Regions from separate parts of the Homo sapiens genome. Here all the other regions are linked to region 2. The links are contacts of gene promoters, found by promoter capture Hi-C in blood cells and fetal thymus (Javierre and others, 2016). All regions are on one chromosome and are shown on one strand. The core of a region is centred on a gene start or on the middle of the fragment in contact, and the rest is flanking DNA. Distances in the headings are between cores, read along the strand shown. Region 1 has its middle 26 kb from the start of SOWAHD. Region 2 holds the start of UBE2A (ubiquitin conjugating enzyme E2 A). Region 3 has its middle 27 kb from the start of RPL39. Region 4 overlaps LOC107985694 (a long non-coding RNA gene).

What was found. Contacts are between HindIII fragments. The CHiCAGO score rates a contact against its expected background, and 5 or more counts as called.
Region 1: a contact is called between a fragment that was not itself captured here and the fragment with the promoter of UBE2A in region 2, in 2 of 17 cell types (naive B cells and activated CD4 T cells). The highest score is 5.9, in naive B cells.
Region 3: a fragment that was not itself captured here is called in contact with the fragment with the promoter of UBE2A in region 2 in 4 of 17 cell types (activated CD4 T cells, total CD4 T cells, fetal thymus and 1 more); the score reaches 5.9 in activated CD4 T cells.
Region 4: a fragment that was not itself captured here is called in contact with the fragment with the promoter of UBE2A in region 2 in 1 of 17 cell types (neutrophils); the score reaches 6.3 in neutrophils.

What each region holds. Positions count from the first base shown.
Region 1 is chrX:119,729,540-119,736,242 of GRCh38, forward strand. No RefSeq gene overlaps it. Among named protein-coding and RNA genes, the nearest start is that of SOWAHD, 26 kb to the right of the region's middle. The HindIII fragment of the contact is 2,420 bases long and covers 3,896-6,315 here.
Region 2 is chrX:119,570,612-119,577,661 of GRCh38, forward strand. UBE2A (ubiquitin conjugating enzyme E2 A) reads left to right here and starts at 3,952. Exons shown (of 6, transcript NM_003336.4): 1 at 3,952-4,144; 2 at 4,290-4,370; 3 at 4,764-4,789. The coding sequence starts at 4,101. It overlaps LOC124905208 (a long non-coding RNA gene), which reads right to left and starts at 3,884. Exons shown (of 2, transcript XR_007068307.1): 1 at 3,524-3,884; 2 at 1-1,692. RefSeq lists enhancers at 3,724-4,224, 4,225-4,725 and a silencer at 4,183-4,352. The HindIII fragment of the contact is 8,074 bases long and covers 1,532-7,050 here.
Region 3 is chrX:119,815,362-119,822,119 of GRCh38, forward strand. It overlaps a transcript of UPF3B not described here and the pseudogene LOC100422368. Among named protein-coding and RNA genes, the nearest start is that of RPL39, 27 kb to the left of the region's middle. The HindIII fragment of the contact is 984 bases long and covers 1,464-2,447 here.
Region 4 is chrX:119,794,522-119,801,464 of GRCh38, forward strand. All of the region lies in intron 2 of LOC107985694 (a long non-coding RNA gene), which reads left to right. Among named protein-coding and RNA genes, the nearest start is that of RPL39, 6.4 kb to the left of the region's middle. The HindIII fragment of the contact is 3,385 bases long and covers 1,071-4,455 here.

The DNA of each region.
Region 1 (6,703 bases), core at 3,856-6,355, 160 kb after region 2:
ATAGTAAGTACCTGCTAGGTGTGAACCGCTATTGTTGTTGCTAGCTATGTGGCCTTGGGCATGTCACTTAACCTCTCACTTTGTCATTCAACCTCTCATTTAACTTCTCATCATTCATCACTTGATTAAGGATTCAAAGTGCCTTTGCCCGTACTAGGTATTCAGCAACACTCAGTTCCCTTGGTTCTTTATATGGTAATAATAGTATTTTACATATGAACACTTACTACACTCCAGGCAGCTCATCTATTACCTTCATCATCCTAGTTAATTATCAAGACAACCATATGAGGAAGTGACATTCGGAAGCAGGTATCCCTAGTTTACAGATGAGGAAACCAGGGTCAAATAGATTGCGATTGGCCCAAGGGCGTATACGAAATGGCTGAGCTGAGATTTTACAATCCTATTTCTTTTTCAAATACTGACACTGGAGTGGGTGATGACCAGTTGTTACTAAATCCAGTGGCTAATCCTTTATTGCTACATGGTTTAAACCGATTGTTGCTGCTAGCTGATGATGAAAGGCTTTGTAGCCTTCCTCCGAGTGGGAACACTTTGCTGCCCCCTTGTGACTCACCAAGTTTCTGCCTCCAGGTTCCCCGTTATTTGAAAAAATAAACAAATAAATAAAAGGCCCGGTGCTGCGACACACGCCTGTAATCCCAGTACTTTGGGAGGCCGAGGCAGGCGGATCATGAGATCAGGAGTTCGAGACCAGCCTGGCCAACACAGTGAAACCCTGTCTCTAATAAAAATACAAAAATTAGCTGGGCGTGGTGGCACGCACCTGTAGTCCCAGCTACTTGAGAGGCTGAGGCAGGAGAATTGCTTGAACCCGGGAGGTGGAGGGTGCAGTGAGCTGAGATTGCACCACTGCACTCCAGCCTAGCAACACAGCGAGACTCTGTCTCAAAAAAAACTTTTTTTTAAAATTAACTATCTTTTCTGGTACAGTAATTTCCCTCCAGAAAAGGTGTTGAGGTGTTGCCTGGGAGAGGCAAGGGAAACATGATTGGAGTTGAATTTTGTTTTGTTTTGTTTTGTTTTAATATAGAGGAGAAAATATAGGTGTCTCTCTTTTTTATTCTTTCTTTCTTTTTTTTTTTTTTTTTTTTTTTTGAGATGGAGTTTTGCTCTTGTTGCCCAGGCTGGAGTGCAATGGTGCGATCTTGGCTCACTGCAACCTCCACCTCCTGGGTTCAAGCGATTCTCCTGCCTCAGCCTCCTGAGTAGCTGGGATTACAGGCATGCGCCACCATGCCCAGCTAATTTTGTACTTTTAGTAGAGACGGGGTTTTTCCATGTTCGTCAGGCTGGTCTCAAACTCCCGACCTCAGGTGATCCGCCCACCTCAGCCTCCCAAAGTGCTGGGATTACAGACATGAGCCACCGTGCCCGGCCTAAATATAGGTGTCTCTTACAGCAACTAGGGGCTTCACAAAGGTGGCGACAGTGGGCTCTGGTCTTGAGGGATGACTAAAAGTTTTCCAGGCAGGCTAGGAAGGGGAAGGACATTCTGAGCAGAGGGAACAGCATGGGCAAAAGCACGGAGATGTGATGGAGCATCTCGGGATTTTAAGCGAGGAGAGCAACATGCTTAGATTCATTCATTCTCTGATTCAACACATATGTGTCACATACTGTGCTGGGTGGTGACAATGACGGTAGTGAAAAACACCAAGTCCCTAAAATTATGGAGCTTACTTTCTAGGGAGGTAGATTTGAAGCAAATGCAAGTACGAGATGCCTCTGGATAAAAACAAAGCAGGGGATGGGAACAGAGAGGGACCAGAGGGTGTTATTTTCAACAGGGTGGTCAGGGAGGCCTTCCCTGAGCAGGTGACATTGGAGCAGGACTGAATGAAGTGGGGGAGCCTGCTTCATGAGTGAACTGGGAAAGATCACACGAGGCAGAGGGAACTACAGGTGCAAAGGCCCTGAGGTGGGAGAGTGTTCGGTGTGATCAAGGAGCCAGAGGCGGGGTGGTGGAGGACTGGAGCATCCTCAGTGCAGGTCGGGGTGGGGATGAAGTTGGTAGGAGAGGGAGGAGGTGAGATTGCAGAAGACTCAGTCATGTTTTCATGGAGGACCTTGTGAGCCATGGCAAGGAGTGGGGATCTCATTCTAAGAAGGGCAGGAAGTGTTTGCTGAGACTGTGTTGAGATGTGAGAGGAAAGAGAGGCATTTAGATGGCTGGCAGATTTTCACCCAAGCAACTAGGAAGACTTCACTATGGATGGGCTAAGTTTGAGAAGCTTATTAGAGCTCCAAGGGGAGCTGTCAGCAGGCTGCTGGACAGCAGCTGGATCTGTGTGTCTGGAATTCAGAGGAAGGATCGGAGCAGCAGGCGTCTGTGCAGAGGGGTCATTGAAAGACCTGGATGAGATGAGATTCTCAAGGGAGCGAGTACATAGAGACAAGTGGACGAGGTCCGAGCCCCATGGCTCCCCAATCTCCAGACTCTAGAGGATGGAGCCAGCAGGACCAGCAGAAGGAAGGCACTGAGGAATGACTGACTGGCTAGGGAGCTCAAAGGAAAACCAGGAGAGCTGGGTGTCCCAGAAGCCAAGGGAAGCAGGAGTTGCAAGGAGGATGGGGTGATCGACAATGTCCAATGCTGCTGAGAGGGTCCAGTAAGGTGAGGACTCAGACCCAACTGCTGGATTTGACAGCATAAAGGGAGGGCATGGATGACCTTGGTACACTCTAGCTTCATGGGCATGTGATCTGTGTAGTGGGACAGGGCCCCACTCTTAGCAGGGTCCTGCAATTGGTCTAATGCACTTCTGAGACCCTGTTGAATTTTTTTTTTTTTAAGACAGAGTCTCACTCTGTCGCCCAGGCCGGAGTGCAGTGGAGCAATCTCAGCTCACTGCAACCTCCGCCTCCCAGGTTCAAGCGATTCTCCCGCCTCAGCCTCCTGAGTAGCTGGGATTACAGGCATGTGCCACCAGACCCAGCTAATTTTTGTATTTTTGGTAGAGACAGGGTTTCACCATCTTGGCCAGACTGATCTTGAACTCTTGACCTTGTGATCCACCTGCCTCGGCCTCCCAAAGTGCTGGGATTACAGGAGTGAGCCACCGTACCCAGCCCTGTTGAAATTCTTAATACCTTTCTGCAGTGAGTTGAATATGGAACCTCTCTCAAAACATATATCCATCCAGAATGTGACCTTATTTGGAAAAGGGGTCTTTGCAGATGTAATTAAGGTAAAAATGTTATGACGAGATTGTATTGGATTAGGGCAAGCCCTAAATCCAATGACAGGTGTCCTAATAAGGGAAAAGAAAGGGAAAAGACACAGAGAGGTGACATAAAGACATAGGCAGAGGCCGGGCACCGTGGCTCACACCTGTATTCCCACCACTTTGGGAGACTGAGGTGGGCGGATCATCTGAGGTCAGGAGTTCGAAAACAGCCGGGCCAACATGGTGAAACCCCGTCTCTACTAAAAATACAAAAACTTAGCCAGGCGTGGTGGTGGGTGCCTGTAGTCCCCGCTACTCAGGAGGCTGAGGCAGGAGAATGAAGTGAACCCGGGAGGTGGAGCTTGCAGTGAGCCAAGATCGTGCCACTACACTACAGCCTGGGTGAATCCATCTCAAAAACAAAAACAAAAACAAAAAACAAAAAACAAAAACAAAACAAAAAAAAAATTAGCTGGACGTGGTGGCACATGCCTGTAATCACAGCTACTCGGGGGGCTGAGACAGGAGAATCACTTGAACCCTGGAGGCGAAGGTTGCAGTGAACTGAGATCGCGCCACTGCGCTCCAGTCTGGGCGACAGAGTGAGACTTTGTCTCGAAAAAAAAAAAAAGACAAAGGCAGAGATTGGAGTGATGCATCTACAAGCCAAGGAGCATGAAGGATTGCTTGCAGCCATCAGAAGCTTGAAAGGAGGCCGGGTGTGGTGGCTCACGCCTATAATCCCAGCACTTTGAGAGGCCAAGGCGGGTGGATCACTTGAGGTCAAGAGTTCGAGGCCAGTCTGGCCAATATGGTGAAACCCTGTCTTTACTAAAAATACAAAAATTAGCTGGGCGTGACAGCGCATGCCTGTAATCCCAGCTCTTCAGGACGCTGAGGCAGGAGAATCGCTTGAAGCTGGGAGGCGGAGGTTGCAGTGAGCCGAGATCCTGCCATTGCACCCCAGCCTGGGTGAGAGAAAGACTCTGTCGCAAAAAAGAAAAAAAAAAAGAGGCCGGATGCAGTGGCTCACGCCTGTAATCCCAGCCCTTTGGGAGGCCAAGGTGGGCAGATCACGAAGTCGGGAGATCGAGACCATCCTGGCTAACACGGTGAAACCCCGTCTCTACTAAAAATACAAAAAAAATTAGCCGGGCGTAGTGGCGGGCGCCTGTAGTCCCAGCTACTCAGGAGGCTGAGGCAGGAGAATGGCATGAACTGGGGAGGTGGATCTTGCAGTAAGCCGAGATCGCACCCGTGCCACTGCACTCCAGCCTGGGTGACAGAGCGAGACCACGTCTTAAAAAAAAAAAAAAAAGGCCGGGCGCAGTGGTAATCCCAGCACTTTGGGAGGCCTAGACAGGCGGATCACGAGGTCAGGAGATCCAGACCATCCTGGCTAACACGGTGAAACCCCGTCTCTACTGAAAGTACAAAACAATTAGCCGGGCGTGGTAGCGGGCGCCTGTAGTCCCAGCTACTCGTTAAGGCTGAAGCAGGAGAATGGCGTGAACCCGGGAGGCAGAGCTTGCAGTGAGCCAAGATAGCGCCACTGCACTCTAGCCTGGGTGACAGAGCGAGACTCCGTTTCAAAAAAAAAAAGTGTTCACATCCAAGTTCTCATTTGATCCTTCCAAAAGGCCTATGAGGTAATAAAGTAATTCCTTTCATGTCCATTTTTCAGATGACAAAATGGAGGTTCAGAGAGGTTAAGTAATCACTCAAGGTCACACAGCCAGTGACCAGCAGACCTAGAACTCCGATCACAATAAGATCTTTACCCCTCTTCGTGGCTGCCCATTTTAGCCAGCTTTTTTTTTTTTTTTTTTTTTTAGACGAAGTCTCACTCTAGCCCAGGCAGGAGTGCAGTGGCATAACCTCAGCTCACTGCAACCTCCACCTCCCGGGTTCAAGCAATTCTCGTTCCTCAGCCTCCCTAGTAGCTGGGATTACAGACACACAGCATCACGCCCAGCTAATTGTTGTATTTTTAGTAGAGACGGGGTTTCACTATGTTGGCCAGGCTGGAACTTTTGGCCTCAAGTGATCTGCTTGCCTTGGCCTCCAAAAGTGCTGGGATCACAGGTGTGAGCCACCTCACCCAGCCTTTAGCCAGCTTTTGACGCACAACGAGTGGGGGTAGCAAATTCTTGGGCATGTCCGCTTACAAATGTGGAACCCAATGTTTCTATGTGGGGTGGTGGTGGGGAGGTGGCTGCTCCTCTAGCAACAGTGATCCAGGCCAGCCCTTGGCAGGACTTCCTCACCAGAGTCGGCTGCAAAGCCAGCCAGCTGGCAGCCGGCCAGGCTCATAGAGTGAACCCACTTGGAGCCGAGAGCCCCACAGAGGGCACAGCAGGGGCATGAGGTCCAACAAACTCAGGCTGTGTGTGCTTCTGCCCCAGAGAATACAACGGCACTGGGAGAGACAGCAGCCACAGCTTCCCGAGAAGCACTGGAATCCTAGGAGCGGCTGCCGGGCAGGGGCAGGCAAGGCAGACAGATGGAAGAGTGCCCAGGCTGCATCATGGTAGCAGTTTGAGGTTCTGTTGAAGGAGGGAAGTGACAAGCTGGGCTGAGTGACAGGCATGGATGAGAGGGCAGACCAGGCTCTGGAGAAAACAGCACATGAACCCATCTTTAGTGACAGTGAACTGAGCAGAGAAATGTCACTTTCAGGCCTGGAAATGGCCAGGGAGGCATAATAGTGACTCCTGCAGGGGGCTTCTCCTCAACCGGGAGCTGGGCGTCCAGGGCAAGGTGGCCAGGCTTGTGCCATCTCAACTACTTGGGAACAAATAGACTTGGCACTCTATGTTTAGCCACCAAAGTCAAGACCAGGAGCCCCGAAGTCCCATCCCCCAAGGAGCTGAGGAGCCCAGATGCTAGAAAGAGGGCCACAGGATGAGCAGGGCCAGCAGCTGCCTGGCAGGACATCTGTCACAGCCCATTGGGCAGCAACCAAGAGGAGTGCGGAGGCTACGCGGCCCCATTTGCTGAAGGGGAGGGCTGCAGACTGCTCATCTGGGAGAGGGACAGATGAACCCAGAGCCAGCCAAGGAGGTCACAGCCCAGTCAGATCACAAAACAAAACAAACCAAACCCAGCTCTCATTAACTGAAGCTTGGCACATGCTGGGCATTGTGTGATGTGCTGTCTTTGGAAGAGCTGCCTTAATTCGTAGGATAGCTAAAGTGTAATTATTATGTGATTACACCTTATTATGTAATTATTAGACAGAACCCACTTGGAGCTGAGAGCCCCACAGAGGGCACAGCAGGGGCGTGAGGTCCAACAAGCTCAGGCTGTGTGTGCTTCTGGCCCAGAGAAGACGACAGCGCTGGGAGAGACAGCAGCCACAGTTTCTCTAGAAACACTAGAATCCCAGGAGCAGCTGCTGGGCAGGGGCAGATGAGGGGGCAGGTGTCATTATCATGACCTCCACTTTATAGATGGGGAAGCTCAGGTACAAAGAAGTAAAGTGCCTTATATAAGTCACGTAGTTAAGT
Region 2 (7,050 bases), core at 2,702-5,201:
GAATGTGGGGGCACGGTGTTCCTGCAATGCAGTTTCATTCCTTAGTCAGAGAATGCTACTCCCATGCAGGTGCCAGGGGGCTTCCAACCATTTGGGTCATGCTCCTGAGTTTTTTTGTTTGTTTGTTTGTGTTTTGTTTTCTGAGACGGAGTTTCGCTCTTGTTGCCCAGGCTGGAGTGCAATGGTGCGATCTCAGCTCCCTGTAACCTCCGCCTCCCGGGTTCAAGCAATTCTCCTGCTTCAGCCTCTGGAATAGCTGGGATTATAGGCATGCACCACCATGCCCGGTTAATTTTGTATTTTTAGTAGAGACGGGGTTTCTCCATGTTGGTCAGGCTGGTCTCAAACTCCTGACCTCAGGTGATCCACTTGGCCTCCCCAAGTGCTGGGATTGCAGGCTTGAGCCACTGAGCCCAGCCCTTAGTTTTCTTGAAAGGAAGAAAGTCCAAGAAAGGAAGAGAAAGGGGGTTTCAAAAAACAGACAAGCTCACAACAAACTTACATACATCTATATCCTTCAATAAATTTCAGACATGTATATCCAGTAGCAGGAGCTTCTCAGTCCCTTTCATACTTTTTAGTACGGTACATGCCGCTTCTTAATAGGGTATTTTCTTTTTCTTTCTCTTTTTTTTTTGTCTGGTCGTGTCGCCCAGGCTGGAGTGTAGTGGCATGACCTCCGCTCACTGCAACCTCCGCCTCCTGGGTTCCAGCGATTCTTCTGTCTCAGCCTCCCGAGTAGCTCGAACTACAGGTCCTCACCACCACGCCCAGCTAATTTTTTTGTATTTTTAGTAGAGATGGGGTTACCTCATGTTGGCCAGGTTAGTCTTGAACTCCTGACCTCAGGTGATCTACCTGCCTCGGCCTCCCAAGTGCTGGGATTATAGGCGTGAGCCACCATGCCTGGCCTCAAAAGGATATTTTCTTTTTTTTCTTTTTTTTCTTTTTTTTTTTTGAGATGGAGTCTTGCTCTGTCGCCCAGGCTGGAGTGCAGTGGCGCGATCTCTGCTCACTGCAAGCTCCACCTCCCGGGCTCACGCCATTCTCCTGCCTCAGCCTCCAGAGTAGCTGGGACTACAGGCGCCCACCACCACGCCCGGAGAATTTTTTGTATTTTTAGTGGAGACGGGGTTTCACCATGTTAGCCAGGATGGTCTTGATCTCCTGACCTCGTGATCCACCTGCCTTGGCCTCCCAAAGTGCTGGGATTACAGGTGTGAGACACCGCGCCCGGCCAGGATATTTTCAATACATCTCTCTCATGCTCAAACACCTATAAAAGCTGCCTAAATTCCCCATTCTCGCATTTGAGGGCATTTAATCAACTTCTGTCACCCTCACTTTTCCTAGCTGAGGTCTCATCATTCCCCAGCCAAGAACCTGTCCATTAGCCAAGCTCATCTGCCCACGGGTTTAGCTCCATGCCCTTGTCTGTGCCATTGCCCCCATATAAACTGCTTAAGTTCTTCTCTCTCAAGCTCCGCTTTCATCTCTGTTGAAACAAAATTGAAATACACCCATTTCAGGAAGCTTGTCCTGATCCCACCAGAATGACGATTCCTCTGCTGTGCAATCTCTCAGCATCTGTGGTTTCACACACTTCTACAAGTTGAGGATCTCAAATCTGAAAATCTAAAATCCGAAATGCTCCAAAACCTGAAACTTTTATAATGCAAATAATTCCAAAATCTGAAAAAAAAAAAAAAAAAAAAAGGAAATCTGAAACCGTTCTGGTTCTGCTGTTGCTGTCGTAGGCAGACTTCTAAGATGCTACCCTCCCCTGAGATTCTTGGTCCTTGGTATATACACACACTTTCTCCCAGTTATTAAATGAAATACTAATCTAGGTTCTGCAGTGAAAAAATTTAGCAGACATAATAAAGGTCCCAACTTAGATGTTTTTAACATAGGGAAATTATCCATGGGGTGGGCCTGACATAATCTGATAAGCCTTTAAAGTAGACTGTGCTCTTCCTGAAAACAAGATTCAAAGAGTGAGAGGGATGTGGTGGGAGAGAAATTCTCTGTTGATGACTTTGAAGATGGAGTAGGCCACTTGGCAAGGAATGCAGGCGGCCTCTAGGAGCTGAGAGTAGTTCCCAGGTGGCAGCTAGTAAGGAAATAGGGACCAAAGTCCTACAACTGCAATGAACTGGGCTTGGCCAACAACTTGTAATTTGTTAAGCAGTGATGAAAACGAATATACTTGCTTTTGTAGATCTTGCTTTTGTTGATTTCATATGTGTGTATGTGTGTGTTAGTAGACTGCAAGTTCTTAGATGAGAGGAAAAAAAGTTTTTTTTTTTTAATTTTTGTACCCCCTTCCTACTACAGCCATAATGTGATGCTATTAGGGAGACTTGCCTTAACTGATATGTTGGAGTTAATGGGAGATAGAAATCCTTGACCATGAAAGTACCTGTTGTTAAGCAGCAGCTAGAATCACTACCATTGTCAAGTGCCTCCTGCTTCTCATGTTAGAAACAAATTCCTGCACATCTGATATCTTCTGGACATCTTCACGGGGATGTCTCACCAGTCCCATGAACTCAGTAAGTCCCACCCAAAATTTCCTTTTCCAAACTTGTCCCTCTCTCTCTATTCTGTAATTCTGTTAATGGCACCTTCAAAACCCCAGTTATCTCGGGGCTTAGAGTTTCAGCCACTGTTGACTCCTTCCTCTCTCTTGCCCCATATTCAGCCTGTTGCCAAGTCCTCCCCATTCATTCATATCCTCGCCTTTATTGTCACTGCCTGCTTCAGTATCTCGCACCTAGATACTGCAAGAGTCTCCTGCCTGCTCTCTTGAGACCAATCTCTGATAAGGACAGCTCTAATGATGTCACTTCCCTGCTCAATGGACTTCCAAGGAATCCATTAGCTTGGCATTCAAAACTCTTGATGACTTAACCCAAATCTACCTTTCTCCTATTTTCAATAATTTTTAAATGTGTATTATGCCTATCTTCTAAGTTATTTTGGGTTGACCTTTAAAAATTATCCTTTAAAACTGTTATTGCTTTTGCAGGTCCACGGACTGTGACTCTTCCTGCAACCTGCAGCTTTTCCACGTTCCTTTTACTTCAGACCCACTGTCCTTGCAACTCCCTGCAGTCGGATAGTCTCATATCTTGGACTCTTCTGAACATAAATAGCCGCTTGGCTTGTTGAACTACCAAGGGGAAATGTGGTTCCAGAGCCAAATTGTGAGTGCCCAAAACAAAACAGAACAAAACAAAACCCTACTCCGCCTGCCTTAAGCTCCCATTCCCTCCCACAGGACATACAACACTATTTCATTCTGCCCTGGGGTGATCATTGGCCTAAACGTTGAGCGCCCAATCCTGCATTCAATCCCACAGCCCCGCCCCGCCCCCCCGTCATAGTCAAGGCCGATTTATTCTTTTGATTTTCCGTGATTTTAACCAATCACTCCTCTCCCCACCCCTCCGACCCCAGTCTCCGGTGTCCGAAGGGGTTGTGCACCCTAGAGTTGCCGCTTTTTGAGAACCGGTTTTACCTCCGCCCACTCCTTCGTCCTCTAGTTTGGGACTTCCAAACTTCTCCCCTCTCCTCCCCGGGCATAGTGCGCGCTTTCATGAATGATCTGGTCACAAAACAAACAAAAACGAATAGAAAAAGAAAAAAAGAGAAAAAGAAAAAAAGCCGAAAACTTCCCAGGGTTTGCCTTAGAATTAGCAGGTGGGGATGGACCCCGTTCCACCACGAGCTCCTCCAGCGCCCGGGGCTCCGGCGTACCCTACGCCTCTGCGCTCGCGGCCCCGCCCCGGGCCTCCCGTGGGGCTTTAATGACATAAGCAACTTTCCTCGCGCACCCCCCGCCCCGTCTTGGTACGGCCTGTCCGGCGCTCGACGTTCCACCCCCCTCTCTCTGCTCTCAGGTTGGTTCAGCCCCCGTCTACACTGGGGTGGTGCTTAGCCGGCGCCAGACCGACCCTCGACTTCGGAGAGGCAGCGCGGTTCCTCTGGGTGCTTCCGCCTCCCCTTCTCCTGCTTCTCCAGCCTCTTCGGCCTCCTCGCCCGCCGCGGGAACCCGAGACCCCAGTGTATGCCCCACCCCTGACCCCGCTCGCGACATGTCCACCCCGGCTCGGCGGCGCCTCATGCGGGACTTCAAGAGGTAAACCGAGGGGACGGCCGAGGCCGGGGGTTGCGAGCTGGGGCACAGGGCGGGTCCCGAGGCGCGCCGGGCGGGGAGGGCTGGGGAGCGGCCGGGAGCGGGCGCCAGTGCCGGCCTAGGGGGACCCCTGTCTGTCTTCCCGAAGGTTGCAGGAGGATCCTCCAGCCGGAGTCAGCGGGGCTCCGTCCGAGAACAACATAATGGTGTGGAACGCGGTCATTTTCGGGTGAGTCTGCGTTCGTGGCGGTGGCGAGAAAACTGGGGACGCGAGCAGCTTCGGTCTGCGCTCCGGGGCGGGCCCCCCGCGGAGGCCGAGCGGGTAGGGGAAAATGTTTGGGTCTGGCTGGGCCTAGGCGCCTCCCCGGAGCCTGTGCCTCGATTAGCTCAGTTCCCGCTGCCAGGGGGAACCGCTTGGGGTTCTAGGGGGGCGGGGCGGGGAGTGGTGGCGGTTAGGCGCGGCGGCTTGCCCTGTGTCTCTGAGCCCGGGACATCCATTTGTAGTGGCTTCCGACCCCGGTAGCGGTGCTGGAGATGGCAGAGCTCGGGATAGCCATCTCAGATGAAGCAGGGAGAAGGGGGCCCCTTAAGTGGGAACTGACCATTTTTCTCTGTGTTGCAGGCCTGAAGGGACCCCGTTTGAGGATGGTAAGAGAGAGTTTCTTTACCCACTTTTCAGGAGCCTGGTCATCTGGGGAAAGGGTTCCCAGTCATCCTGGAAGTGTCTCCTGCTTAGGAACCTGCCTCTGCCTAGCCTCTGTCTGCTAAAGGCTTGAGTGGAATGCAGTGTGTGGCTGGTGGTTCTGGATATTGTATGCTTGACTAGAACTGCACCTTTCTTCTTGCTTTCTTAAAAAAAAAATCTGTGTAAGGCAGTCACTTTTTAAAAGGAGCAATCATAGCACTGGTATTAAGGATTTTTGAGGCTTGGGCTGTAATTCTGCTAAATTCAGCCCTCCATCACTGAATTAGTATAAACCCAACCAGTTGCTGATAGGCAGCAGAGACCCCAGAGACCATCTGGTTCAGAATTCTACCCCAAGGGCAGGAGTTGTGTTCAGCAGGTGCTTGGTAGATGTGTGTTGGATGTTGAGTGGATGCGAGAATCCCTTGCGTACAACTGTCTGGTTTCTACAATCTGACATTGAATGCCTGTCAGCCTCACTGCTCTAAGATGGTCTTAAATGCCTCATTTGAGTACAGTATTCTTTCTTATTTTTAAGTGAATTTGCAGTGTGTGCTTTCATCAAGACGTTATGATGAGTAATTTCAAAGCAGCTTCACAATTGAAGTTAGCCTTAATGTACCCTTTTGATCAGTGTCCTGCCTACCTGAAAGTACTACATGTACCAGTAGGTACATAATTTTTAATTGATTTAGGTTTAACTTTTAAAAACACGTGTAAATTGCTTTTTAAAAACTTTCTGATTTTAGATAATTATAGATTCATATGCAGTTGCAAGAAATAATAGAGACACCCTTTATACCCTTAACCCAGTCCTCTACCCAAACCCTCCCATTTGGTAACATCTTGAATGACTAGACCCTATCACAACCGGAAAAATGACACTGATAGTTCTACACTCAGTTGTGTGTGTGTGTGGTTGTTTTTTGAAAGTTTAATACATTTAAAGGATGATTAAAGTATTTGAACTCATGAAATTCTTTAATATTTGAGGTTTTAAAAAAAAGGAAAAGGATCTTTCTGTTATTTTTTTCCTCAATGATTTCCTTCGGTCACATAGCATTTATACACACACACACACACACACACACTTCAGTTTGAAGGTGGGAACAAAAACATTTCTGCAAACTACTTAATACATACTTATGTTGCTGAGCCGGATTGCTTTTTGATGCTACCAGTCCACAAAATGTTGTGAGGTAAGTCAATTTCAACTAAGTCTGTAATTCATCTCAAGTACTTAGATTTCCCCAGGAAACTGTGGACAGTCACCTGAATATTTTTAGCTTCCTCTTTACCTTTACCCCCTGGGTAAATATCATTACTCTTCAGGGCTGCAAAGAAAAGAAATGACAGCAGGAAACAGTGATTGTAAGGGCATACTACTTTGGCGCAGTTAATCATTTGAACTGATTTGTAGCAAAAAACTATAGCTAGACTTAATTTTCTTCTACCAGATTGGCACTAGTTTTTTTGTTTGTTTGTTTTTTGTTTTTGTTTTTTTGAGACGGAGTTGCGCCCTGTCACCCAGGCTGGAGTGCGATGGTGTGATCTCGGCTCACTGCAACCTCCGCCTCCCAGGTTCAAGCGATTCTCCTGCCTCAGCCTCCTGAGTAGCTGGGATTACAGGTGTGCGACACCGCGCCCGGCTAATTTTTTGTATCTTTAGTAGAGACGGGGTTTCACCATGTTGGCCAGGCTGGTCTCAAACTCCTGACCTTGGGATCCACCCGCCTTGGCCTCCCAAAGTGCTGGGACTACAGGCTTGAGCCACCGCACCCGGCGAGCACTAGTTCTTTATACCTGAGCTTTAAATGTACAGATTAACTGTGTTTGCTTTAGCTCTAGTAGGCCTTGTTTTCATTGGCTTCTTTTTTCCTCGTTTTACTCTGTTTTATGCTGGGCACAGCTTTATTAATAGTACATCACTTTGCTGGGGATTGGCTACCTAAATATTTCAAGGGTGCTTCTCTTAAGTGGTATGAATTGAAAAGGTACTTACAGAGTCCATTATCTACCAGGACTGTCACCTTTGACATTACTGGTTCTATTTTTGATGATGTGTATCTCCATCCTAGCATTACTGAAAGGAATTACTCAGGCTGATTTGTTCTGTTGAACAGTCTGCTACCGATGGATGCTTCCTCAGGTGTCTGGAACACTGTGGCCTGTGGTTCCCCCACAAAAAAAATTTTAGCTTTTTTTTTTTTTTTTTTTTTTGAGA
Region 3 (6,758 bases), core at 706-3,205, 240 kb after region 2:
GGGATTTTCAAGTCATAACTTATATATTAATATATACTAAAGTCCAGTCATTTAAGACCAAAAATGTGAAGGCATGGTAAATGACAACTTGCCCACTTCCTCTCTCCATTTCCAAAGAAAAGCAACCATTTCCTAATTATTATTTTATAAGCCTGGTACAACTTATTTTTCTTAGAGACATGGTCTCATTTTGTCACTCAGGCTGAAGTGCAAATGGCAAGATTGCAGCTCACAACAGCCTTGACATTCCAGACTCCAGCCATCCTCCCACCTCAGCTTCCTAGTAGCTGGAATTGCAGGCACGCTCTACCACACTGGGCTAAGTTTTAAAATTTTTAATAGAGATGGGGTCTCCCTATGTTATCCGGGCTGGCTTTGAACTCCTGAAGTTAAATGATTCTGCCACCTTGGCCTCCCAAATGCTAGGATTGCCTGCATAGACGAAGTTTCGCTCTGGTTGTCCAGGTTGGAGTGCAGTAGTGCAATCTCGGCTCACTGTAACCTCTGCCTCCCGGGTTCAAGCGATTCTCCTGCCTTAGTCTGCTGAGTAGCTGGGACTACAGGTGCACACCACCAAGCCCGGCTAATTTTTGTATTTTTAGTAGAGACGGGGTTTCACCACGTAGGCCAGGTTCATCTCCAACTGCTGACCTCAAGTGATCCACCTGCCTCGGCCTCCCAAAGTGCTGGGATTACAGGCATGAGCCACCATGCCTGGCCTATAGTTATTAAGGACATGAAATTATGCTTTATGAGGAAGTGGTCCTCACCCCCCTTGCCTGCAACACAAGAAAGGAGAGCAAGGGAGCAAAGTAGAAGAAAGGTGGCACTGGGGAAAGGATATCAATTCAAGACTGATGGTAAAAATTGCTTAGCAGGAGTGAAGGCTCTCCTGTGGTTTCACCAATTGATCTGCTTGAGGGATTTTCTCCAGCGACACTTGCAGCTTAGGGGCAAGAGGCTCCCACAACACCCTGTGCTACCGCGACCCTTCTGACATTGTGCATCATGATCTGATTATTGCTATTTGCCTCTTGCCAACACTGAAACATGAGTTCCACGTGCACAAGGACTTATTTGAATCCCTGACCCCAGGGCCTGGCACACAGTCAGTGATTGGTACATGTTTGCTAAATGAATGAGCAAATGGAAGAAATTGAAGAGGGTGGGGTGGGGATGGGTGATTTATCCAGAGCTGGACAGGCCAGGCAAGTAGAACAGAAGAGGGAGGTGCTGACATGAAAACAGGCTAGACAAAGAGGCAAGGATGTCAACTCATGCCTGGGGGTTCAGGAGTGTTGCTTCTCCTAAGGCCAACTCCTCTAACCTCTACCTTGGCTTCCATTTTCACCTGCCTTTGCAGGAAGCCTACAGTATTCGTTGTCTCTTTCTCTTGAGTATTCATCCTTGTAGAGCTTACCTTTTGGCTTCTAAACTTACTTACTTTCTCATATTTAAAATAAAGCTTCATTAACACCATTAACCTATGTATCTCCATTTCTTTCACAGCTATATTAATTGGTTTTCACACTAGTAGAAAAAATACCCAAGGCTGGGTAATATATAAAGAGAAGAGGTTTAATTATTTTATTTTATTTTTATTTATTTATAAAATAAATAAAATATGTGACGTAGTCTCGCTCTTGTCGCCCAGGCTGGAGTGCAATGGTGCGATCTCGGCTGACCACACTTCTGCCCTTCAGGTTTAGGCGCTTCTCCTGCCTCAGCCTCCTGAGTAGCTAGAATTACAGGCGGGCATAAGCACACCCAGCTAATTTTTGTATTTTTAGTAGAGATGGGTTTCGCCATGTTTGCCTGGCTGGTCTGGAACTCCTGACCTCAGGTGATCCACCGGCCTTGGTATCCCAAAGCTGGGATTACAGGGGTGAGCCACCAAGCCCAGCCGAAGAGGTTTAATTGACTCACAGTTCCACATGGCTGGGGGAGCCTCAGGAAACTTACAATCATGGCAGAAGGGGAAGTGGACACATGCTACATGGCAGCAGACTAGAGGTGAAGTGCGAGCATAGGAAAAACTGCCTTGTTTAAAACCATCAGATCTTGTGAGGCTTACTCACTATCACAAGATCAGCATGTGTGAGACTGCCCCAATAATCCAATCACCTCCTACCAAGCTCCTCCCTTGACACATGAGGATTACAGTTTAAGATGAGATTTGGGTGCGGGAACAGAGCTCAATCATATCAACAGTCATATGAGAAGTCTTCAAAAAGTCCATGGAAAATGTGTATTATCAAGAAACTATGCATGGATTGCAAAATCTTTTGGCATCAAAATAAACTGGTACTAACTCGTTAAAAAATATCTCGACAGGATCTAGTTTGAGGCATTAAAAAGGAGAAAGCATCAGTGTGAAAAGAGCTCCTATCAGCGAAAAATGGATTCTGCTAAAATTGAAGGAAGAACAAACATAAAATTTAAGATGAAGCTTGGGTGGAAGAACGGTAAAATCACTGATGCTTTACCAAAAGTTTATGGGGACAATGCCCCTAAAGAGATCAGCAGTTTACAAATGGATAACTTGTAAGAAAGGACAAAATGATGTTGAAGATGAAGCCTGCAGCAGCAGGTCATCCACATCAATATGCAAGGGAAAAAATTAGGCCAGGCGCAGTGGCTCACACCTGTAATCCCAGCACTTTGGGAGGCCGAGGCGGGTGGATCACAAGGTCAGGGGTTCAAGACCAGCCTGGCCAACATAGTGAAACCCCGTCTCTACTAAAAATACAAAAATTAGTTGGGTATGGTGGCATGAGCCTGTGGTCCCAGCTACTCAGGAGGCCGAGGCAGGAGAATCGCTTGAACCCAGGAGGCGGAGGTTGTGGTGAGCTGAGATCATGCCACTGCACTCCAACCTGGGCAACAGAATGAGACTCCGTCTTAAAAAACAACAACAACAAAAATCCTCTTCGTGCTTTAACTGAAAAGCATCGGCTGGGTGTGGTGGCTCACCCCTGTAATTCCAGCACTCTGGGAGGCCAAGGCGGGCGGGTCATCTGACCAACCTGGCCCACGTGGTGAAACCCTGTCTCTAATAAAAATACAAAAATTAACTGGGTGCGGTGGCAGGTGTCTGTAATTCCAACTACTTGGGAGGCTGAGGCAGGAGAATCATTGAACCCGGGAGGCAGAGGTTGCAGTGAGCCAAGATTGTGCCACTGGCCTCCAGCCTTCGTGAGAGACTAAGACCAACTATTAATGGCAGAAACAACAGCCATCACCATAGACATCACAATTGGTTCAGCTTACACAATTCTGACTGAAAAATTAAAAGTTGAGCAAACTTTCCACTTGATGGGTGCCAAAACCAGATCAGCTGCAGACAAGAACAGAGATTTCAACGGAAATTTTAAACAAGTGAGATCTATTACGTTGCTGCATATTAATTGTGGTTTATGCCATGGAATGTCAAAAGCCGCAATTACGTTGGCACCAACCAATAGATCATGAAGCATCTATTGGGAAAGTGTAACGGGAGGTGATACGTGGCTTTCCCAGTATGACTCTGAAGACAAAGCAATATCAAAGCAATGACTCTGAAGAGGTGGAAGAGATCCAGTCAAAGCAAAACTGGACTGGCCAAGAGCAAAGGTCATGGCAATAGTTTTTTGAGCTGCTTGAGCAACTCTCCTTATTGACTTTCTGGAGGGCCGAAGAATAGTAACACCAGCTTTTTTTTTTTTTTTTTTGAGACCAAATCTCACTCTGTCACCCAGGCTGGACTGCAGTGGTGCAATCTCGGCTCACTGCAACCTCTGCCTCCCAGGTTCAAGCTGTTCTCCTGCCTCAGCCTCCTGAGTAGCTGGGATTACAGGCACGCACCACCACGCCTGGCTAATTTTTGTATTTTTAGTAGAAACGAGGTTTCACCATGTTGGTCAGGCTTGTCTCGAACTGCTGACCTCGTGATCCTCCCATCTCGGCCTCCCAGAGTGCTGGGATTACAGGCATGAGCCACCGTGCCCGGCCAACACCTGCTTATTATAAGAGTGTTTTGAGAAGGCCAAAGCTTTAGCAGCAAAATGCCCAGGAAAGCTTCACCAGAGAGTCCTTTTCTACCACGGTAATGCTTCTGCTCGTGCCTCTCATCAAACAAGGGCAATTTTGAGAGTTTCAATGGGAAACCATTAGGCATCCACCTTACAGTCGGGATTTAGCTTCTTCTGTCACTTTTTTGTTTCCTAATTTTAAAAAGTCTGTAAAGGGCAACCATTTCTCTTCAGTTAATAATGTAAAAAAGATTTCATTGATGTGGTTAAATTCCAAGGACCTCCACTTCTTAGGGGATGGATGAAATGACTAGTATGTAATTGTTGTGAGCAAGAGACATACATACATACATAAATGGCTAGTTATCATTGCTTATGAAAGTGTCTTGACCTTGGTGGATCTTACGATGAGAAGTTTATATTTTTTTCTTTTATTTCTATTTTCCACAAACTTTTCTTTTCTATTTTTCCTTTTTTTTTTTTTTTTTTTTGAGATGGAGTCTGGCTCTGTCGCCCAGGCAGGAGTGCAGTGGCACGACCTTGGCTCACTGCAATCTCCGCCTCTTGGGTTCAAACGATTCTCTAGCCTCAGCCTCCCGACTAACTGGGATTACAGGAGCCCGCCACTGTGCCTGGCTAATTTTTGTATTTTTAGTAGAGACTGGGTTTCACCATGTTGGCCAGGTTTGTCTTGAATCCCTAACCTCAGGTGAAGTGCCCGCCTTGGCCTCCCAAAGTGCTGGGACTACAGGCATGTGCCACCTCAATCCCCTGCCTTTTTGTTGTGGGGAGGATGGAGTCTCCCTCTGTCGCTCAGGCAGGAGTGCAGTGGTGAGATCTAGGCTCACTACAACCTCTGCCTCCCGAGTTGAAGTGATTCTCCTGTCTGAGCCTCCTGAGAAGTTTGGACTACAGGTGTGCTCCACCAAGCCCGGCCAAATTTTTTTTTTGTATTTTTTGGTAGAGATGGGGTTTTACCATGTTGGCCAGGCTGGTCTCAAACTCCTGACCTCAGGTGATCCACCTACCTCAGCCTCCCAAAGTGCTGGGATTACAGGCATGTGCCACCAAGCCCGGCCTTTTTTTGGGTGTGGTGGTGAGGGGGGCAGATGGAGTCTAACTCTGTTGCTCAGGCAGGAGTGCAGGATTGAGATCTCTGCTCACTGGAACCTCTGCCACTCAAGTTCAAGTGATTCTCCTGCCTGAGCCTCCCGAGGAGTTTGGACTACAGGTGCGCTCCACCAAGCCTGGCCAATTTTTTTTTTTTTGTATTTTTTGGTAGAGATGGAGTTTCACCATGTTGGCCAGGCTGGTCTCGAACTCCTGACCTCAGGTGATCCAACCGCCTCAGCCTCCCAAAGTGCTGGGATTACAGGCATGAGCCACTGCCCCTGGCTTCTGTTCTTTTAAAAATCCATATAAAGCTGGACACGGTGGCTCATGCGTATAATCCCAGCACTTTTCGAGGCTACAGTGGACAGATTGTTTGAGCCCAGGCATCTGGCAAACAGATGCCATGTTAGGAAGGGCTGGCAGGATGAATGAAAATCAGGCAAAAGCTCAAGGATGTTGTCTAAACATTTTGTTCTTATGGGACCAGAACAGTTGATGTAGTTTTGAAATTTGTCCCCACCCAAATCTCATGGAAATATAATCCCCAGTGTTGTAGGTGGGGCCTGGTGGGGTATTGGGGTTATGGGGCGGATCCCTCATGGCTTGGTGCTGTCCTCTCCATAGTGAGTTCTTACAGATCAGGTTGTTGTAAAGTGTGGCACCTCCTTCCCACACTCACTCTCTTGCTCACTCTGTGATGTGACATGCCTGCTCCTGCTTCACTTTCCGCCATGAGTAAAAGGTCCCTGAGGCCTCCCAGAAGCTGAGCAATGTCAGATGCCATGCTTGTACAGCCTGCAGAACTGTGAACCAGTTAAACCTCTTTTCTTATAAACTACCCAGTCTCAGGCATTTATTTATAGCAATGCAAGAACGGCCTAATACAGGAGTGAACCATGAACTGATCTTTCTCTGGTGGACAAAACAAAGGCAATGCCTGTGAAGGCAGAAACTAACATTATTCATCTGCTTTTGATACTTCCAAGAGGCTAATACAGTATAAAAAATTTAATTTCTCAAAACTCACAGCTGGCTGGGCGTGGTGGCTCACGCCTGTAATCCCAGCACTTTGGGAGGCTGAGGCCGGTGGATCACGAGGTCAGGAGTTCAAGACCAGCCTGGCCAAGATGGTGAGACCCCCATCTCTACTAAAAATACAAAAAATTAACCAGGCGCGGTGGCAGGTGCCTGTAGTCCCAGCTACTCAGGAGGCTGAGGAAGGAGAATAATTTGAACCCGGAGGGTGGAGGTTGCAGTGAGCCGAGATTGTGCCACTGCACTCCAGCCTGGGTGACAGAGTGAAACTCTGTCTCAAAAAAAAAACAAAAAAAACAAAAAAAACCTCACAGCTGTTTACTAAAGTTACTCACCACACTTAGCTTCATACTTGACTGCTGTTACTATGTATTGACATCAGAACAAAACAAACTGAAACTAAAAGTTGATATGTAACAACAACAGACATTGGTGCAGTTTCCTTCCTGGAGAGGGTAGGCACCAGATCATGAGACCTGAGATAAAACAAACTAGATTGTCAAGAATCCAACAAGGACTACATTTTACCTCTTAATAGAAAAAATGCTGGAGACAAAACGAGATGTTTAAAAATATTCTTCATGCTAAGCTTATGTAAGC
Region 4 (6,943 bases), core at 1,513-4,012, 220 kb after region 2:
TCAAAAAACAAAAACAAAAAAACAAAAAAAACAATTCTATACAACTCCCCCCTGCCCACCCCTGCCCCAAGGGGCATATGTATAACTGGTGAAATCTGAATAAGCTCTGTGGACTGTGCCAACGTGAATTTCCTGGTTGTGATATTGTACTATAGTTATGCAAGATGCTAACACTGGGGAAAACTAGATAAAGGGTACACAGGGCCTCTCAGTCCCTTTCTTTGCAACTTCTTGCGAATCTATTGTTATTTCAAAATACAAGTCTAAAAAAACTCTGCCTTCATTGAGTTTAATTATAGTGGGGAGTTAGACAACAAATATGTAAATTACATGGCACATCAGAAGGAGGTGTCATCAAGAAAAGCAAAGCAGGGGCCAGGTGCAGTGGCTAACACCTGTAATCCCAGCATTTTGGAAGGCTGGGGAAGGAGGAATAGTTGAGACCAGGAGTTTTAGATCAGCCTGGACAACATAGTGAGACTCTCTACAAAAAATACAAAATTTAGCCACTGGATGTGGTGGCACGTGCCCGTAGCTCCAGCTACTTGGAAGGCGAGAAGGGAGGAGCGCTTGAGCCCAGGAGTTCGAGGCTGCAGTGAGCCATGATTGTGCCACTGCACTCCAGCCTGAGCAACAGAGTGAGACCCTGTCTCAAAACAAACAAAAAATTGAGGGCTGGGCGCGGTGGCTCACGCCTATAATCCCAGCACTTTGGGAGGCCGAGGCGGGTGGATCACGAGGTCAGGAGTTCGAGACCAGCCTGACCAACATGGTGAAATCTCGTCTCTACTAAAAATACAAAAAATTAGCCGGGTGTGGTGGTGGCGCCTGTAATCCCAGCTACTCGGGAGGCTGAGGCAGGAGAATCGCTTGAACCCGGGAGGTGGAGGTTGCAGTGAGTGGAGATCATGCCACTGTACTTCAGCCTGGTGACAGAGGGAGACTCCGTCTCAAAAAAAAAAAAAAAAAAATTGAGAAAGGGTGGCATGAAAGGTAGAAGGAAAACCAGCAAGAAGTGCTCTTTCTAAAAGCAGTAAGAATTAAAAGGATAATTGACATAAGCACTTAAAAGCTTATTTGCTGCTGCTTCTGGTCACCAGAAAGAAAATGCTTGCTCTTAAATAAATGAGCAATAAAAATCCAAAAAATCCAAGTTAAAAAATGTATATTTGGAAAAATGGCCGGGCGTGGTGGCTCCCACCTGTAATCCCAGCACTTTGGGAGGCTGAGGCGGGTGGATCAACTTAGATCAGGAGTTCGAGACCAGCCTGGCCAACATGGCAGAACCCTGTCTCTACTAAAAATACAAAAATTAGCCGGGAATGGTGGCACACCTGCAATCACAGCTATTCAGGAGGCTGAGGCAGGAGAATTGCTTGAACCTAGGAGGTGGAAGTTTCAGTGAGCCGAGATCGCACCATTGCACTTCAGCCTGGGCAACAGAGTGAGACCCTGTCTCAAAAAAAAAAAAAAAGTTGGAAAAAAATAATGCAGCAATAAAAAATAATACAAATATAGACAGGTGTGGCAGCATGCACCTGTAGTCCTAGCTACTTGGGAGGCTGCGGTAGGCAGATTGCTTGATCCCAGGAGTTCAAGTCCAGCCTGGGCAATGTAGTGAGACCCTATCTCTAAAAATAAATACAAATGAAAAACAATACAGTATAATAATTATTTACATAGCATTTACACTACATTAGGTATTATAAGTAAACAAGAGATGACTTAAAGTATACAGGAGGATGTGTGTAGGTTATATGCAAATATTACATAATTTTATATAAAGGACTTGGACATCAGTGGGTTTTGGTATTAAAGAGATCCTGGAACCAATCCTTCATGGATACTGAGAGACGATTATATCTGCAAAGGTGTAGATGCTAAGAACAGGTATCCAGGGCCTCCCAGAGCCAGCCTAGGAGTCTGAGCTTTATCCTGGGGACCAACAATTTGCAGACTTCTTTTTTTTTCTTTCTTTTATTTTTATTTTTTTGAGACAGAGTCTCGCTCTGTCGCCTAGGCTGGAGTGCAATGGTATTATCTCCACTCACTGCAACCTCCACCTCCCTGGTTCAAGCAATTCTCCTGCCTCAGCCTCCCAAGTGGCTGGGATTACAGACACATGCTACCATCCCCAGCTAATTTTTGTATTTTTAGTAGAGATGGGTTTCACCATGTTGGCCAGTCTGGTCTCAAACTCCTGACCTCAAGTGATCCACCCGCCTCAGCCTCCCAAAGTGCTGGGATTACAGGCGTGAGCCACCACGCCCGATGTAGTTTGCAGACTTCTTTAACAGAATGGCTCTTTGTTTTAAAAGCCATTTTATATAGAAACTCACCATTGACTCTTCTCTGTTACACCCTTAATCCAGTCTCAGCAAATCCTGTCAGCTGTCTCAAAAATGTTTCTCGAATTCAGTGCTCATTTCCCCCACCGTCGTTCATCTCTCACTTGGATTACTGCAAAATCCTTCAAACTCTTCCCCCTTCTTCTGGCCCTGCCCCTCTACAGTTTCTTCTCAACACAGCAGTCAATGACCCTGTTAAAACCTAAGCCTGATCATGTCACTGTATTTAGTGGCTCCTTTTTATTTTTCATTTTTTTGAGACTAAGTCTTGCTCTGTCACCCAGGCTGGAGCGCAGTGGCATGATCTCAGGTCACTGCAACCTCCACCTCCTGAGTTCAAGTGATTCCTGTGCCTCAGCCTCTCAAATGGCTGGGACTACAGGCACATGCCACCACACCCGGCTAATTTTTGTGTTTTTAATAGAGATGGGGGTGTATGTTGGCCATGTTGGTCTTGAACTCCTGAGCTCAAGGGATCTGCCCCCTTCTGCCTCCCAAAGTGCTGGGATTGCAGGCATGAGCCACTGTGCCTGGCCTATTTAGTGGTTCTTAATGGCTCATTTCACTCCAGTAAATATCTAAGTGCCCCAGCCTGGGCGACATAGGGAGACCCTGTCGCTACGAAACGTTAAAAAATTAGCCGGATGTCGGGGCACACACCTGTGGTCTCAGCTATTCAGGAGGCTGAGGTGGGAGGATTGCTTGAGCCCGGAAGGTCAAGGCTGCAGTAAGATGAGATCACACCACTGTACTCCAGCCTGAGTAACAGAGCAAGACTCTATCTCCAAAAAAAATATAAAAAGAAGAAAAAAATTAAAGATTCAAGTTCTCACAACAGGCATACGCTTCCACATCAGCCCCTTCCACCTCACCTCTGTGACCTTATCTCCCACTGCTCTCACCATCAGTTCACTGGGCTTTGGCCATACTGGGCAGTTCTCAGCTCAGGGCCTTTGCACTTGCTCTTCTCGCTACCTGGAAGCTCTTCCCCTAGATGTCCCCACGCCTTCATGGCTTCCTTCATCAGTCTCCTTAGGTCTTTTTTCCAATGTCACCTCAGTGAGGCTTTCCCTAACCACTCTATCTATCTAAAATTGCAGCTCGGCCGGGCGCGATGGCTCACGCCTGTAATCCCAGCACTTTGGGAGGCTGAGGCGGGCAGATCATGAGGTCAGGAGTTCGAGACCAGCCTGGCCAACATGGTGAAACCCCATCTCTACTGAAAATACAAAAAATTAGCTGGGCATGATAGTGTGTGCCTGTAATCCCAGCTACTCAGGAGGCTTAGACAGGAGAATTGCTTGAACCGGGACTCGGGAGGTGGAGGTTACAGTGAGCTGAGATCATGCCACTCCACTCCAGCCTGGGAGACAGAGGGACACTCTGTCTCAAAAATAAAATAAAGTAAAATAAAATAAAATAAAGTAAAATTGCAAACCCCAGGTCGGGCGCAGTGGCTCACACCTATAATCCCAGCATTTTGGGAGGTCAAGGCCCAGCATTCTGGGCTTGAGCCCAGAAGTTTGAGACCATCCTGGGCAACATGGTGAGACCTCCGCCTCTACAAGAAAAATGCAAAGATTAGCTGGGTGTGGTGGCACATGCCTGTAGTCCCAGCTACTCAGGAAGCTGAGGTGGGAGGCTCACCTGAGCCTGGGGAGTTCGAGGCTACAGTCAGCAGTGATTGAGCCACTGCACTCCAGCCTGGGTGACAGAGTGAGACTCTCTCTAAAAAAAATTTGCAACCCCTGGCCCCCACTCAGCACTCCCTACCCCTACTACTGCTTTATTTTTCTCCATATTACTTACCTGAGATAACATATATTTTATTTATTGTTTGACTCCCTGCCTAGAATGTAAGCTCCATGAGGTCATGGATTGTGTATTTTGTTCACTGCTGTATTCCCTGAGCCTGGAACAGTGCCTGACACATAGTAGATGCGCAGTAAATATTTGGTGAATGAATGAACAAACGCTAATACATCAAAGAGACAACATCAAAGAACAGACTCCACAGGGCAGTTTACATCTTCATTGTTTGGCCCGACCCTTCTTGTTTGAGGGTGGATTTTCAAAATTACTGCTGAAGGCAATTGGGAGCCTTGAAAGCTTTTAAAGGGTAAGAGTAAGTGGCAATTATATATTTGTTGTTGTTGATGTTGTTGTTTTTGGAGGCAGGGTCTTGCTCTATCACCCCGGCTGGAGTGCAGTGGTATATTCTCAGCTCCCTGCAACCCCCACTTCCCCGGCTCAAGCCATCCTCCAACCTCAGGCCCCTAAGTAGCTGGGACTACAGGTGCGTGCTGCCAACCCAATTTTTTGTATTTTGGTAGAGACGGGGTCTCACCACATTGTCCAGGCTGATCTCGAACTCCTGACTTCAAGCGATCTCACCTCGGCCTCCCAAAGTGCTGGGATTACAGGCATAAGCCACCGTGCCTGGCCAATTATGTAAGTATTTTAAAAAGATCCTTTGGCCAGCTGGAGAGTAGATGGGGATGGGGACAATAGTGGAAACAAGAAGGCTCGTGGGGGCGGTTGTTAAAATTATGCTTTTTTTTTTTTGAAACAGAGTCTCGCTCTTGTCGCCTAGGCTGGAGTGCAGTGGCACGATCTCGGCTCACTGTAACCTCCGCCTCCCAGGTTCAAGCAGTTCTCCTGCCTCAGCCTCTGGAGTAGCTGGGATTACAGACACCTACCACCATGCCCGCTAATTTTTGTATTTTTAGTAGAGACGGGGTTTCGCCATGTTGGCCAGGCTGGTCTCCAACTCCTGACCTCAGGTGATCTGCCCGCCTCAGCCTCCCAAAGTGCTGGGATTACAGGCATGAGCCACCACGCCTGGTCAGCAAACTTTTTCTGATAGTAAATATTTTAGGCTTTGCAGATGACATACAGTGTCTGTTGCGACTACTCAACTCTGCTGTTGCAGGATGAAAGCTGCAGGACAATATGTAAATGAACGGTGTGGCTGGGTTCCAAGAAAACTTTAGTTACAGATACTAAAATTTAAATTCAATAGAATTGTCATGTGTCCCAAAATATTCTTTTGATTTTTTTCAACCATTCAAAAATACAGAAACCATTCTTAGCTCTCAGGCTGTACAAAAACACGCAGTGGCCAGGTTTGGTCCATAGGCTGTAATTTGCTGAGCCTAGGCCTAGATAATTATGTCAAGACTCTCCTCTCCCTCCTCAAACCTGCAACCCTTCTTCCTCCATTCTCACACTCAGTTGAGGACCTGGCTTCCTAGTCACTGAGAAAATTTAAGCAATCACAAGAGAACTCCCACAGCCCATCCACACATGCTATCTGCCAACACCTCCACGTGACTATTCCCCCATCCCTCTGTTACTGTGAATGAAACGTTTGAACTATGTCCGGCCTGTCTGCTCGCTTGTGCCCTAGATCCAAACCTCTCTCGCCCATTCAACAACCCTGCTCTGACTAGTCTTCCCTTTCTGTCCTTGCTGTTCACTGCATTATTCCCATCAACATACAAATAAATATGCTGTCATCTTAAAAAAGCTGCTTTTTACTCCAACTCCCTTGCCAGCTACTTCTTCTTCTCCTTCCCTTTACAACAAAACCCTGGTAAAGATTTGTCTTCATTCACTGTTTCCAACTTCTCTCCCATTCTTTAAGTGAGATACAATTCACGTAATATGAAAATCACCGTTTTTTTATTTTATTTTATTTTTGAGACAGAGTCTTGCTCTGTCAGGCTGGAGTGCAATGGCGTGATCTCAGCTCACTGCAACCTCGGCCTCCCGAGTTCAAGCGATTCTCCTGCCCCAACCTCCCAAGTAGCTGGGATTACAGGCATGCACCACCACACCCAGCTAATTTTTGTATTTTTAGTAGAGGCAGGGTTTCACCATGTTGGCCACGCTGGTCTTGAACTCCTGACCTCAGGTGATCTGCCCACCTCGGCCTCCCAGAGTGCTGGGATTACAGGTGTCAGCCACCGCACCGGCCACTATTTTATTTTATTTTATTTATTTTTGAGATAGAGTCTCTGTCACCCAGGCTGGAGTGCAGTGGCATGAACTCAGCTCACTGCAACCTCCGCCTCCTGGGTTCTAGTGATTCTCCTACCTCAGCCTCCCAAGTAGCTGGGATTACAGGCATGTGCCACCACGCCTGGCTAATTTTGTATTTTTAGTGGAGATGGGGTTTTGCCATGTTGGCCCAGCTGGTCTTGAACTCTTGACCTCAGGTGATCCACCCGCCTCAGCCTCCCAAAGTGCTAGGATTACAGATGTGAGCCACCGTGCCTGGCCTAGCAGTCACTCTTTCATTCCCACTCTTCTCTCAGCCCTAGGAAACCACTAATCTATTTTCCGTCTCTGTGGATTTGCCTATTCTGGATATTTTATATAAATGGAGACACAATATGTAGCCTTTTGTGTCTGCTTTCTTTCACTTAGCATAATGTTTTCAAGGTTCATCCATGTTGTAGCATGAATCAGTATTTCATTTTTTTTAGAAGTGGGGTCTCACTATATTGCCCAGGCTGGTCTTGAACTCCTGAGCTCAAGCAATCATCCCACCTTGGCCTCCCAAAGTGCTAGAATTACAGGTGTGAGGCACT